4 separate regions of the Homo sapiens genome follow, and regions 1, 2 and 4 are each linked to region 3. Evidence: promoter capture Hi-C in 16 types of primary human blood cells and fetal thymus (Javierre and others, 2016). All regions are on one chromosome and are shown on one strand. Each heading gives the region's core, a stretch centred on a gene start or on the middle of the fragment in contact. The rest is flanking DNA. Distances are from core to core; before and after follow the strand shown. Region 1 overlaps ADSL (adenylosuccinate lyase). Region 2 overlaps CACNA1I (calcium voltage-gated channel subunit alpha1 I). Region 3 holds the start of TNRC6B-DT (TNRC6B divergent transcript). Region 4 has its middle 19 kb from the start of CACNA1I.

Region 1 (2,785 bases), core at 82-2,581, 320 kb before region 3:
GATTTCCTGGCTACTTTTAAATAAAACTGGAACCGATTCAGCCTCCTCTCCCTCACAACATTCCTAACGAGGCAGTCTTCCAGCTTCTGCCTGACCTGGGGGATTGAGTGTAGGTTGCTAATCTCAGTGGTTCCAATGTCTGGCCCCAAGCCAGTCTCAGTAATGGGTATTGAGCTCAGTGTGTCTCTTGGGGCAACACACAATCAAGTCACTCTTCCTGCACCTGGCAATATTTGAAGTGCCGAGGAGTTTTCTTCTGTATAGGATAAAGAGCCCTAACATTCCTCCACCACAAGATCTTTTTGGAGGTTGGCTCTCCAGTTCATCTCTATTCCTCAGACTGGGTATCCAAAATTGAATGTAATGCCAAGAGTGCGGAGCAGTAAGCCTCTGGTGGCTTTTTGGGCACTGGACAACCATTAACACCTCCTAAAACAGTCTTCTCTCAGTTCTGGTGCATACTGAGTTTAAGATTAACTTATTTACATTGATCTTTATTAACTTTTTCCTCTAGTTTAGGACACATCATTTCAGCCGATTTAGGTTAGAGATGAAAACTTATTTTACCAAATAAACATACTTGTTAATTCTCCCAGTTTTGTGTCATCTGCAAATCTGATAAACAAAAGCTTTCATTTTCATCTATGCCGAAAAATATGTAGGATGAGAATGGGCTAAATAACACTAGTGCTCTCCTGGCAGGTAGGTAATTAACTCAATCTTTGGCTACAGTTGCTTCAATCAGCTATAAATCCATGCAACAAGGAAGTCGGGCGCAGTGGCAGAAGCTGGAAGACTGCCTAGTTGCCAAGTATCTGATGTGCTCTTGCTATTGGAAATACAACAAGGAATGACACAGACAACGTTCTTGTCCAATGGCACTTGCTTACACTGTAAACAAGTAAAAAAAGAAAACAAGATTAGGCTGGGTGTGGTGGCTCATGTCTATAATCCCAGAACTTTGGGAGGCTGAGATGGGCGGATCACTTGAGGTCAGGAGTTCAAGACCAGCCCGCCCAACATGGCAAAACTCCATCCCGTCTAAAAATACAAAAATTAGCCAGGCATGGCGGCAGGCGCCTGTAATCCCAGCTACTTGGGAGGCTGAGGCTGGAGAATCGCTTGAACCTGAGAGGCGGAGGTTGCAGTGAGCCAAGATTGTGCTACTGCACTCTAGTCTGGGTGACAGAGCAAGCCTCAACAACAAAATCCATGCAACAAGGAATAAAGACTGTCAGCGGCCCTGATGAAATCAATATACTCAATTAGCATTTCCCTGCTGTATAAGCCTTATCAAAAGATGAAATGAGCTTGGGCACAACTTCAGCTCAATCAGCCTGATGGTCACATCAGGGTTTGGTTCTTTTTTTTTTTTTTTTTAAGTATTTACTGTAGTTCCAAACTTCATCACTTATACTAGCCAAAAATAACCGAAATAAAAGGTATCTGACCATTGACTCAATCACTGAGTCCAGGTTATTTTGCTAGACCTAGATCAAATTCACTTTTAGAAGACAGGACCAGAAATTTCTTGCTACTTTACAAGCAAATGAACACGTGAAAAGGACTAAACTTGAGGCAGCTGGAAAATATGCCTTGAAAGAACAGAGATCAAGTATGAACTACATTTACTATGCAAGAGCAGAGTCAACTTCAACGCTCTTTGTTTTTGCCTTGTTGAGAAATGTGAGACTGAGAAACAGGAAAGCACCATGGGAAGAAGAAAGTGCTGTACTAATTTAAGGTAACAATTCTCGAGGTAAAATAAGGCATTATAGTAACACAATTTTCATGCCTCAGCAATTAACAATGATTTTCGTTTAATTCTCTTCCAACTCTACAGACATAATTCTGCTTTCACCTTCATCACGCTTTCATATGGTTTTAACAGGGGATACACCTCCTCTTCTAAGAATCTCTGCACCTGCCAGAGGAAAGCAAATACAAGACAAAAGAAAATGTTAAGATATTAGCAGATAATACCTTTTCCAATGTCAGGGGATACCACTGAAACCTAATTTGATGAAGCTTTTACTCCAACACTGAGCTTGTTTTCCTCAACTGCCTATCAGGAATTTCTGCCTAGACACAGATGATTCAACCACCATGCCCACATGCTCACCAACCTTTCCCGCAAACTGGCCCAGCCTGTGTTCTCTCAGGTGGTTTCACCATTTCCATCCAACCTAAAAATCACCACAGCTTCTTTCCTCCTGCTTCCCAGCCCTCTTCAAGTAGCCACCAAGAGCTTAACCTCCTCTCCCTCCCCGGTCTGTGTCTCTCACCACTGCCTTCACTCAAGCTCTCATCATCTACTGCTTGGCCCGTTGCAGTAGCCTCCTTATTGGTCTCCTACCTCCAGTTTTAGTCTTTTAGCCCTCAGTCCTTGCACGTACTGCTTGGTATCATAATGACCTATTTACAAGTATTCACCACTAAGTTTTGAGCTCTCTGAAGATGAGGATTATCTATTCATCTTTGTATTTTTTTTAAGACAGGATCTCATTTTGTCACCCAAGCCAGAGGGCAAGGGAATGAATATGGCTCACTGCAGCCTTGACCTCCTAGGCTCAAGCTATCCTCCCGCCTCAGCCCTGAGTAGCAGAGACTACAGGCGCACACCACCACACCTGGCTAATTTTTGTATTTTTTTGTAGAGACAAGGTTTCACCATGTTGCCCAGGATGTTCTTGAACTCCTGAGCTCAAGCAATCCTCCTGCCTCGGCCTCCCAAAATGCTAGGATTACTGGTGTGAGCCACTGCGCCCAGCCTATCTATTCATTT
Region 2 (2,700 bases), core at 14-2,513, 440 kb after region 3:
GAATATATGTTTGGACAGGCAAGATTGAAAAATGACACTATCCAAACACCTTTTCTTTTAAAAAAAAACTACTTAAAGATGTTCTCCAGCCAAACCAGAATAAGAATGAAAACGAAGAACGTGACTAAGAGGAGGATACAGTGCTCAGGAAACCACAGGAAACCAGAGTAGCTTCCGTACAGGTCTCAGTGACTGTTGACAATGTGTTTGTAAAACTGAATACAGTGATTGAGAGAAGATGCTTAGAGGCCAGGTGCGGTGGCTCACACCTGTAATCCCAGCACTTTGGGAGGCTGAGGTGGGAGGAAAGCTTGAACCCAGGAGTTCAAGACCAGCCTGGGCAACATAGTGAGACCCTGTCTCTATAGAAAAGAAAAGAAAAATTAGCCAGGGTTGGTAGCACATGCCTGCAGTCCCAGCTACTCAGGAGGCTGAGGTGGGAGGATCCTTTGAGCCTAGGAAGTCAAGGCTGCAGTGTGTGGTGACTGCATCACCACACTCCAACCTAGGTACAGAGTGAGACCCCATCTCAAAAAAAGAAGGAAGGAAGGAAGGGAGGGAGGGAGGGAGGGCGAAAGAAAGAGAGAGAGAAGGAAGGAAGGAGGGAAGGAAGGAAGGAGGGAAGGAAGGAAGGAAGGAAGGGAGGGAGGGTGAAAGAAAGAGAGAGAGAAGGAAGGAAGGAAGGAAGGCAGGAAGGAAGGAAGGAGGGAGGGAGGGAGGGAGGGAGGGTGAAAGAAAGAGAGAGAAGGAAGGAAGGAAGGAAGGAGGGAGGGAGGGAGGGAGGGAAGGAAGGAAGGAGAGAAAGCGAGAGAGCAAGCAAGCTTAGAAGAGGTGTAACTTTTTTAAAACCCTAGTGAAACGAATCACCTCACTTCAGAACACATCTGTGGAATTTAGCAGATACCTGATGGGATTCTCACACCCTGACTGTCCGTCTCAGCCATGCGTCTACTGAATCAAAAAGGTCACACCTCCTCAATAGCATTCTACACACGAGGTCACACACATACACACATACACTGACACACACACTCACACACCCTCTCTCACACACACACGTACAGCCTCCAGCCTTTTTCTCTCTCCTCTGCCCTAATAATGACCCACTCTTGGGCATGGTTAATGTCTCCTCATCCTTCAGCTCTCCCGTGTCACCTCCTCAGGAAGCCCTCAAGCCCCCAAGTCCCCAGCTTGGCTCAGTCGGGCTGCTGTGTTAAATGCTCTCAGCAAACCACATGCTTTGCCCAGCGCCCTGGTCCCCGTGTGTGAAGGCACGCCCACTGGCGTAGCAGGTGGGTGCCTCCCCGAGACAGGAGTAGGAAGGACAAGGCCTGTGTCTGGCTTGCTCTCCTCCTTGCCCCCAGCAGCTAGGGCGGCGCCAACACTGGGGAGCAAGTTGTTCAGTCCCTGGTTGATGGATGAATGCATGGATGGGTTTGACCCAGGAAAGCAGGCACAAGACCCAGAGCAGGGTCACAGACGCTCCAGATGGGCTCAGCTGTAACCAGGCCTGTCCCTGACGGCAGCTTGTGTCTCGGTAGAAATAACCACAGTCTGGAGTCAGACAGTGCTTGAGTCTGTGCTCGGTCTCTGGCGTGATGAGAGATCCAGGATAGCAATCCTAACAGCTAGCATTTATTGGGTGCTCATTTTGACGCAGCTACTATTATTATTCCCCTTTTCAGATGAGGAAATGAAAGCTTAGAGAGCGTCAGTGGCTCTCTCAAGGTCGTATCATTAATTAGCATAAACTCACCCAGTATCCGCTGGCAGTGCTGGAGGACGCACAACTTAGGAAGGGAGGAAAGAATGTCTGTCTGTCCATCATTCCTCCCAGCCCAGGGGTCCAGGAGGGTCCCACGCATCACCGTGATTCCCCTTCATCGCCATCAGCAAGAAGCCCTGGATTCTCTCAATTATGCCTGGTGTGCACCAGAGGCTAGGACCTGCCTGGCGGGCGCTACCTACCCTGCCATGACGATGAAGAAATCCAGGCGGTTCCATGTGTCCCCGAGGTAGCACTTCTTGCCAAAAATCCCCAGGGCCACCATCTTGAGCACCATCTCCATGGCAAAGAAGATAAAGATGAAGTCATCAAAGACCTGCAGGGGCAGGAGGAGGGAAGCAAGGGACAGGGTGAGGTTGCAGAGCAGGGCCCAGGGGTTGCAGCCACAGTGTGAGGTGGGGACACCACATGGATGCAAGGGGCCTGGGAAACACCCGGAAACTCCTCCTGGGCAGGAGGAGAACCTCAGTGATCCCAGTCCAATGCAGTCATTTCATAGATGAGGAGACTGTGGCCCAGAGACGGGAATGAGTTTGCCCAAGGTCATACAGCCCGTTCTATCTGTTCCCTAAGCCTGGGAACAGATAGAAGAGCCCCAGGTGGGGGTGGGGTGAGGGGCCGTCCCATATTCTCCCTAATAATTACCAAGCACTGGCTACACACTTGACCCCCATTCTCTCTCCTAATTCTCCCAAGGACCCCATGGGTAGTCCCATTTTACAGATGAGGAAACAGAGACTCAGAGAGGTTAAGCAACTTGCCCCACAGGTCACACAGCAGATAAGTGGCAGAACCAGGATTGAAACTCCGGTGGGTCTCACCCCAAAGCCCCCATGGAAGCAGCTGTCTCAAAGTAGCCCCCAGGCACAGGCCTCAGTGTTGCCTTTCTCTGCCCACAAAGGAGGCTATGAGAT
Region 3 (2,700 bases), core at 165-2,664:
TCTCTAGCACTGATGCTAAAAAGTAATAAAACAGCCAAAACACATGAGAAAGCACGAACTTAAAGTCCCAGGCTGGTAACCTGAATTCCAAAGAATTCAGAATAAGCTGGTCCTTAAGGCGCTTGACTAGAGGTGACCGTTACTGGACGTCTTTAACCACTACAGCGTGTCTCGCTGGATCGGATGTCCAGCCTCTACAGCCGAATAAACCGGTAGTCTGGAACTGAAGGGCACCGGACCACGGGAAGGTGTAAAAACACTCTCCGTGCCCCTCGTTTCCTTGTCCAGAGTCTGAGCCGCCTCCCCAAGTGGCCGCACACGCAGGGCCCTGGCGAGGGGTGTGGAACGCATTCACCTTGTCACGCAGGTCCTGCACACAGGCCGGGACGCTGCGCAGGGACCCGAGGATCCGAGGCCTGACGCCTCCCTCTGCCACCGCCAGCCAGGGGCGGACGCGCCTCCGCGGGCCGGGAAGGTGTCCCCGCGCCGAGGCCCCCCGGAGACGGGAAGCGAACTCGACGGCCGGGCCAGCCCACCCGGAAGCCCTCCCCCAGCTCACACCTGCTGGCGCGTGACGCCCGGAGCCGCGCGCGCGCCCGCCAGTGCCTGCCCGGCCGTTCGGGGCGCCCCGGCCCGCGCGCCGGACGTCGCCCCGAGTCCCTCCCCGCCCCTCGACTCAAATCTCGGCGGCGCCCGCTCCCGCGGAGCGCGCGCTCAGCGCCGCCGGCCGCACCAGCCCCGCGCGCGCTCACGCCCCCTCCCCGGCCCGCTCCCCGCCCCACGCGCGCTCCCTCGCGAGGACACGCACACGCCGCGCCTCCGCTCACCGCCCCGGGCCGCGCCGCGCGCCCCCGGGGGCGCCCTCGCCGACCCCCGGCCGCCCCGCTCCGTCCCGGCGGGGCGCGGGGGAGGGGAAGGACGGCGCGGCCGCCGCACCTCACTCACCGCCGAGCCGTGCCGGCTCCGAGTGCGCGGCGTTTCGCTGTGAGGCGAGGCGCGCAGTCTCCGCTTCTCCGCAGACTATGGAGGCGACGTCGTAGGGGGGACTGAGGGGCGCAGGGGTCACTCCCTCCCGTTTCGCCTTGCAGCAGCACGGGGACCCCAAAAACTAAAAACAAAATAAACAAACTTTCCCCTCCGCATCCCTCCCCCAAAACCACAACACAAACACTCGGGGGCCCGCCCAGAGCCCCACTCCATTGGCCGCAGGGAGGATGCTTCCGGCTCTCACTGGCTGGCTTTTGTGCCCGTCAAGCTGTCGTTCCGCCCCTCCAATTCCTCGTTGCTGCCTTCGCCCCTCATTGGTTAAGTGCTTCCCGTTTAACGAGCTAGGATTGGCTGAGCTGCCTGAGCCAATCATGTGGGGACACACCCCCTCAGCATCCCAGAGGCCGCTTCCTCGGTCGAGGACCCAGAGAGACTCAGGGGAAATTAGAGCATGATGGCGGCCGAGGTCGCTTGGCGCAACCATCGTCTTTTTTCTTTATTTTTAGCTCATTAGTGCCTTGCCTCGGCGCTGTTTCCCTAAGCTCCTCTCTCCAACCAGTACTGCCCTATAACGGAATCCATACGTGCCGGCTCCTTGATTTATCCCCTCCGAAGTGCTGAGTGTGGGCTGGTTGTGCGTCATTGGACTGTCAGGATGTCACTCCCCAGTCAAATCTTCAAGCTATTGGTGGAACAGCAAGAAAGCCCGTCCATCAACAAGGGCTAATACCATTGGTTTGACTCCACTGTGTTATTTCCTGGCACCTTATTGGGCAAATAGGTGCGTCAGATCCGGATTCGCTCTGCTACGGTTAATTGTTTACTGGGGATTTGGGGTCAACTCTGGTTGTTTGGCCAGTAGTTGACGATAATAGTGACTCCCTTGCCTATTTTGTGCCAAGTATTGGGCTGCTTTCTTCACAAACATTATCTGGTTAAACCTGGGAGTAATGCAGTATCCAGTTTTTATAGATGGGAAATTAAGGCTGGCGAGAGCTTAGAAAACTTGCCCAAGGTCATCCAGATACAGAGTCGTTGGTGGGCCTGGCATCTGGTCCTGGGTCAAACTGCAGAGACTTCACTCTTTTTATTATGCTTTAGTGCCTCCACCTTAGACGATGTACTTGTCAGCCAACCTAGCATCTTAAAAACGTTTCATTTGGAACTCAAAGTCTTCAGTCAGTTTCTAGAAGTGACTTTGTTGGGGACTTACTATGGAAAGGTTGTCATTGCCTCCACCACATCTTCCTCCCCAGGACCCATTCCTCTCCCCTTTAAGGTAGACATTTCTGCCTCCTTTTATGCGAAGCCTAGGCACCACTCGCAACCCCTGACCAACCATCTACAACTCATTCTTTGGAGAGAGTCCTCAAGAGCTGGAAAACTAGGAGAAATCAAGTCTAAAGAGAGAGACAGAATAAATCGTCTTAGAAATGAATAATTTATTGCATGCAAAGAGAACAGCCCTTCAGCTCCTGGAAATCTTCCAGGATAGTTGATGCTGAGCAAGACGTGTGCTCCTGGCTGGTGGCCACTGGGTTCTTTCCCTATAGCAGCATTCATCGAAGTGAATCCAACATTTCAGCCAGAGGAGGGCAGGACGCTTAGGACCCATTGCCAGTGAGCTTTTGCGACCGAAATGATCTCCAGGAGCACAACGCTGGACTCTAGCCCACATTCCATCTTGGGTAATTAACATTTTACCGTCCCAAA
Region 4 (2,700 bases), core at 17-2,516, 490 kb after region 3:
AAGTGCTGACTGTGGGTAAAACAGGGAGGAGATTTGGAATGAGACCCTAGGGAGGATGGGCCAGACGCTGGGCTTCCCATATGTGATGGGGCAGGCTGAACCCCAGCACCTGTGGGCACCTTGATGGGTTTGAAGAGGCCAAGATGGACCCAGAGCCCAGTCTGGAAGGTAGTGGCTGGATTGTTCTGCAACATAAAGAGAGAAGAATCAGAAGGTCCAGAGAGAAAAGAGTGGAGAGGGAAGGGAGAGGAGAGAAGAGATTGCAAGATGGAGGAGACCAGGGACACGCAGAGGGGGACGCACCTGGGGGGATCCCCCAGAAGCGGGGGGACTTCGATTTGAAGTGGTTTGCATGGCTGCAGTGTCAGTGTCCCTCCCCTGCCAAGTCCCCAGGAACATCTGCTGGACCCACAGGGGTACTCAGTGTGTGGATATCAAGAAAGGAGCCGAGCTCCCCCTCAGTGCTGACATGAACAAGAACAGCCCTGGGCATGTCACCCAGTCCATCCCCAACTGCACTAAGCCAGCAGAAGCAAAAGGTCAAAGCCAGAGGGGTCCAGGAGAACACTGGCAGCCCCCCAAGATTGCTGCATCCCTAGGAATCTGGGCAGGAAGTGTGGGGGTGGAGCTGGCTTATGTAGCTGAGAAGCAGGGAGCCCCTGGGCCCGGCTGCAGGTGTCCACTTCTTCTATCAGCCCACTTAACCCCCAGCAGTCCTAGGTGACAGGGATCATGCAGCTCCACTTACACTCGGGAGAACCAGAATCCGGAGAAATTAAGTAAATTGCCCAGAGTCACACAGCTAATAAGTAGCATAAACAGGATTCTATGCCAGAGTGCATGTGTGTGCGCATGTGTGTGTGTGTGAGAGAGAGAGAGAGAGAATCTATCTCTGCCCAGGACAAAAGCCTATCTATCTGCCCAGGACAAAAGCCTGGAGTGGGGGCAGAGCATAGCTGGGGACAGACCCCAGGAACCTCAAGTTCCTGCCAGGTCGGAGGTCCCTGACTCTCAACCAAAACAGGTAGCTGATGCCTGAGGAGCTTCCTGGACAGGGCTCAGAGAATCCAGTCTCTACTAACAATACAGAAATTAGCCGGGCGTGGCAGCATGCGCCTGTAATCCTAGCTACTCGGGAGGCTGAGGCAGGAGAATTGCTTGAGCCCAGGAGGCAGAGTTTGCAGTGAGCCAAGATCGCGCCACTATACTCCAGCCTGGGCAATAGAGCGAGACTCCATGTCAAAAAAGGAAAAAAGAAAGAAATTGAGTTCAAGAGAGCTGGTGTGACAACAGTTACACGCCAGGCCATCACTCAGTGATGTTTATTGACCACCTACTAAGTGCCACGTGTCAGGTATACAGAAACAGATGAACCCCAGCCCTGTGGGGAGAAGCCACATCTGGACAACCTGGATTTAAGCTCGGAAGAAAGGAGCTGGGAGCCCCCAGGAGGAAACGATATTTTCTGGGGTCAGACCAGGAGGGCCAAAGAAGGCTCCACAAAGGGAGAGACAGTGAAGGCCTAGAAGGGACAACAGGCAGTGGGCAGATCTGAGTTTTCCTAGCCAAGTATTGGAGGAAGGGCATCTCAAGCCAAGGGACAGCAGGAGCAAAGGCCCGGAGAGCATCAGGTTAAAAAAGACATGGGGGTCTGGGCGCAGTGGCTCACCCCTGTAATCCCAGCACTTTGGGAGGCTGAGGCAGGTGGATCATCTGAGGTCAGGAGTTCGAGACCAGCCTGGCCAGCTTGGTGAAACCCCGCCTCTACTAAAAATACAAAAATTAGTCAGGCAGGGTGGCAGGCGCCTGTAATCCCAGCTACTCGGGAGGCTGAGGCAGGAGAATCTCTTGAACCCAGGAGGCGGCAACCTAGGTTGCAGTAAGCTGAGATCATGCCATTGCACTCTAGCCTGGGCGACAGAGCAAGACTATCTCAAAAAAAAAAAAAAAAGAAAGAAAGAAAGAAAAGAAAATGACACTGGGGAAGAGGTGGAAGAGGGACCGGAAAGCCCAGCTTAGGAGCGACGGAGCCAGAGAGGAGAGTGGACGATGAAAAGAGGAAAAATCACCTTGAGGTGCAGGGGGTGGGGACCCTCTGCCCCTGCTGGCTTCTGTCCACCTCTGTCTCTGTCTCTTTGGGCGTCTCTCTCCTGCTTCCTGTTTCCCTTGCCTGGCTCCCTTCCTCCTTGGCGTTTCTCTGTCTTACCCTTTCTCTGGCTCTCTCCATGCCCCTCTGTCTCTCTGTCTCCCTAACTCTTCCTGTCTGTCTCTTGCTCTCCCGTCTCCCCGCTGTGTGTGTGTATGTACATCTCTCACGCACGTGTGCCCTCACACTCTTCCTTTCTGCCACTCCTGCTGCTTGGAGATAGAATAATAGAGCAGGCAACTATCCCTTTTATCCTCAGCTGGACAAAGTCCCGGCACCCGGGCAGTCAGGCTTCCAGGCAAACACCCTCAATGTCGCCATCAAGGAGAGACCATGAGGCCTGTGTGGTGGGAGTGGGTCTCAGGCTGGAGGCGCTGTAGTTGGCCAGGTCATTACTGTAAGCCTGGGCCCTGCCCTGTGGTCTTTCAAGCCCTGATGGCTTAGGATGGGCATTTGAGGGAGCAGGCAAGCTTTGCCCAGAGGCAGAAGAGGCAGCCTCAGCCTCCCGTGGCACTTGAATTCCACCGTCAGGGCTACAGTGCTTTCTTGCAAGG

The links. Contacts are between HindIII fragments. The CHiCAGO score rates a contact against its expected background, and 5 or more counts as called.
Region 1: a contact is called between a fragment that was not itself captured here and the fragment with the promoter of TNRC6B-DT in region 3, in 7 of 17 cell types (endothelial precursors, naive CD8 T cells, total CD4 T cells and 4 more). The highest score is 8.0, in endothelial precursors.
Region 2: a contact is called between a fragment that was not itself captured here and the fragment with the promoter of TNRC6B-DT in region 3, in 4 of 17 cell types (erythroblasts, M1 macrophages, megakaryocytes and 1 more). The highest score is 6.8, in erythroblasts.
Region 4: a contact is called between a fragment that was not itself captured here and the fragment with the promoter of TNRC6B-DT in region 3, in 14 of 17 cell types (megakaryocytes, M0 macrophages, activated CD4 T cells and 11 more). The highest score is 14.2, in megakaryocytes.

What each region holds. Positions count from the first base shown.
Region 1 is chr22:40,365,575-40,368,359 of GRCh38, reverse strand. ADSL (adenylosuccinate lyase) reads right to left here. Exons shown (of 13, transcript NM_000026.4): 13 at 1-1,924. The coding sequence ends at 1,838. Among named protein-coding and RNA genes, the nearest start is that of SGSM3, 3.6 kb to the left of the region's middle. The HindIII fragment of the contact is 1,399 bases long and covers 632-2,030 here.
Region 2 is chr22:39,599,922-39,602,621 of GRCh38, reverse strand. CACNA1I (calcium voltage-gated channel subunit alpha1 I) reads right to left here. Exons shown (of 37, transcript NM_021096.4): 3 at 1,969-2,102. Among named protein-coding and RNA genes, the nearest start is that of CACNA1I, 31 kb to the right of the region's middle. The HindIII fragment of the contact is 879 bases long and covers 824-1,702 here.
Region 3 is chr22:40,043,244-40,045,943 of GRCh38, reverse strand. It overlaps TNRC6B-DT (TNRC6B divergent transcript), which reads left to right and starts at 1,414. Exons shown (of 1, transcript NR_163486.1): 1 at 1,414-2,700. It overlaps FAM83F (family with sequence similarity 83 member F), which reads right to left. Exons shown (of 5, transcript NM_138435.4): 5 at 2,410-2,700. It also overlaps a transcript of TNRC6B not described here. RefSeq lists silencers at 361-430, 441-660 and enhancers at 961-1,080, 1,391-1,690, 1,772-2,419. The HindIII fragment of the contact is 12,286 bases long and covers 1-2,700 here.
Region 4 is chr22:39,550,437-39,553,136 of GRCh38, reverse strand. No RefSeq gene overlaps it. Among named protein-coding and RNA genes, the nearest start is that of CACNA1I, 19 kb to the left of the region's middle. The HindIII fragment of the contact is 2,704 bases long and covers 1-2,618 here.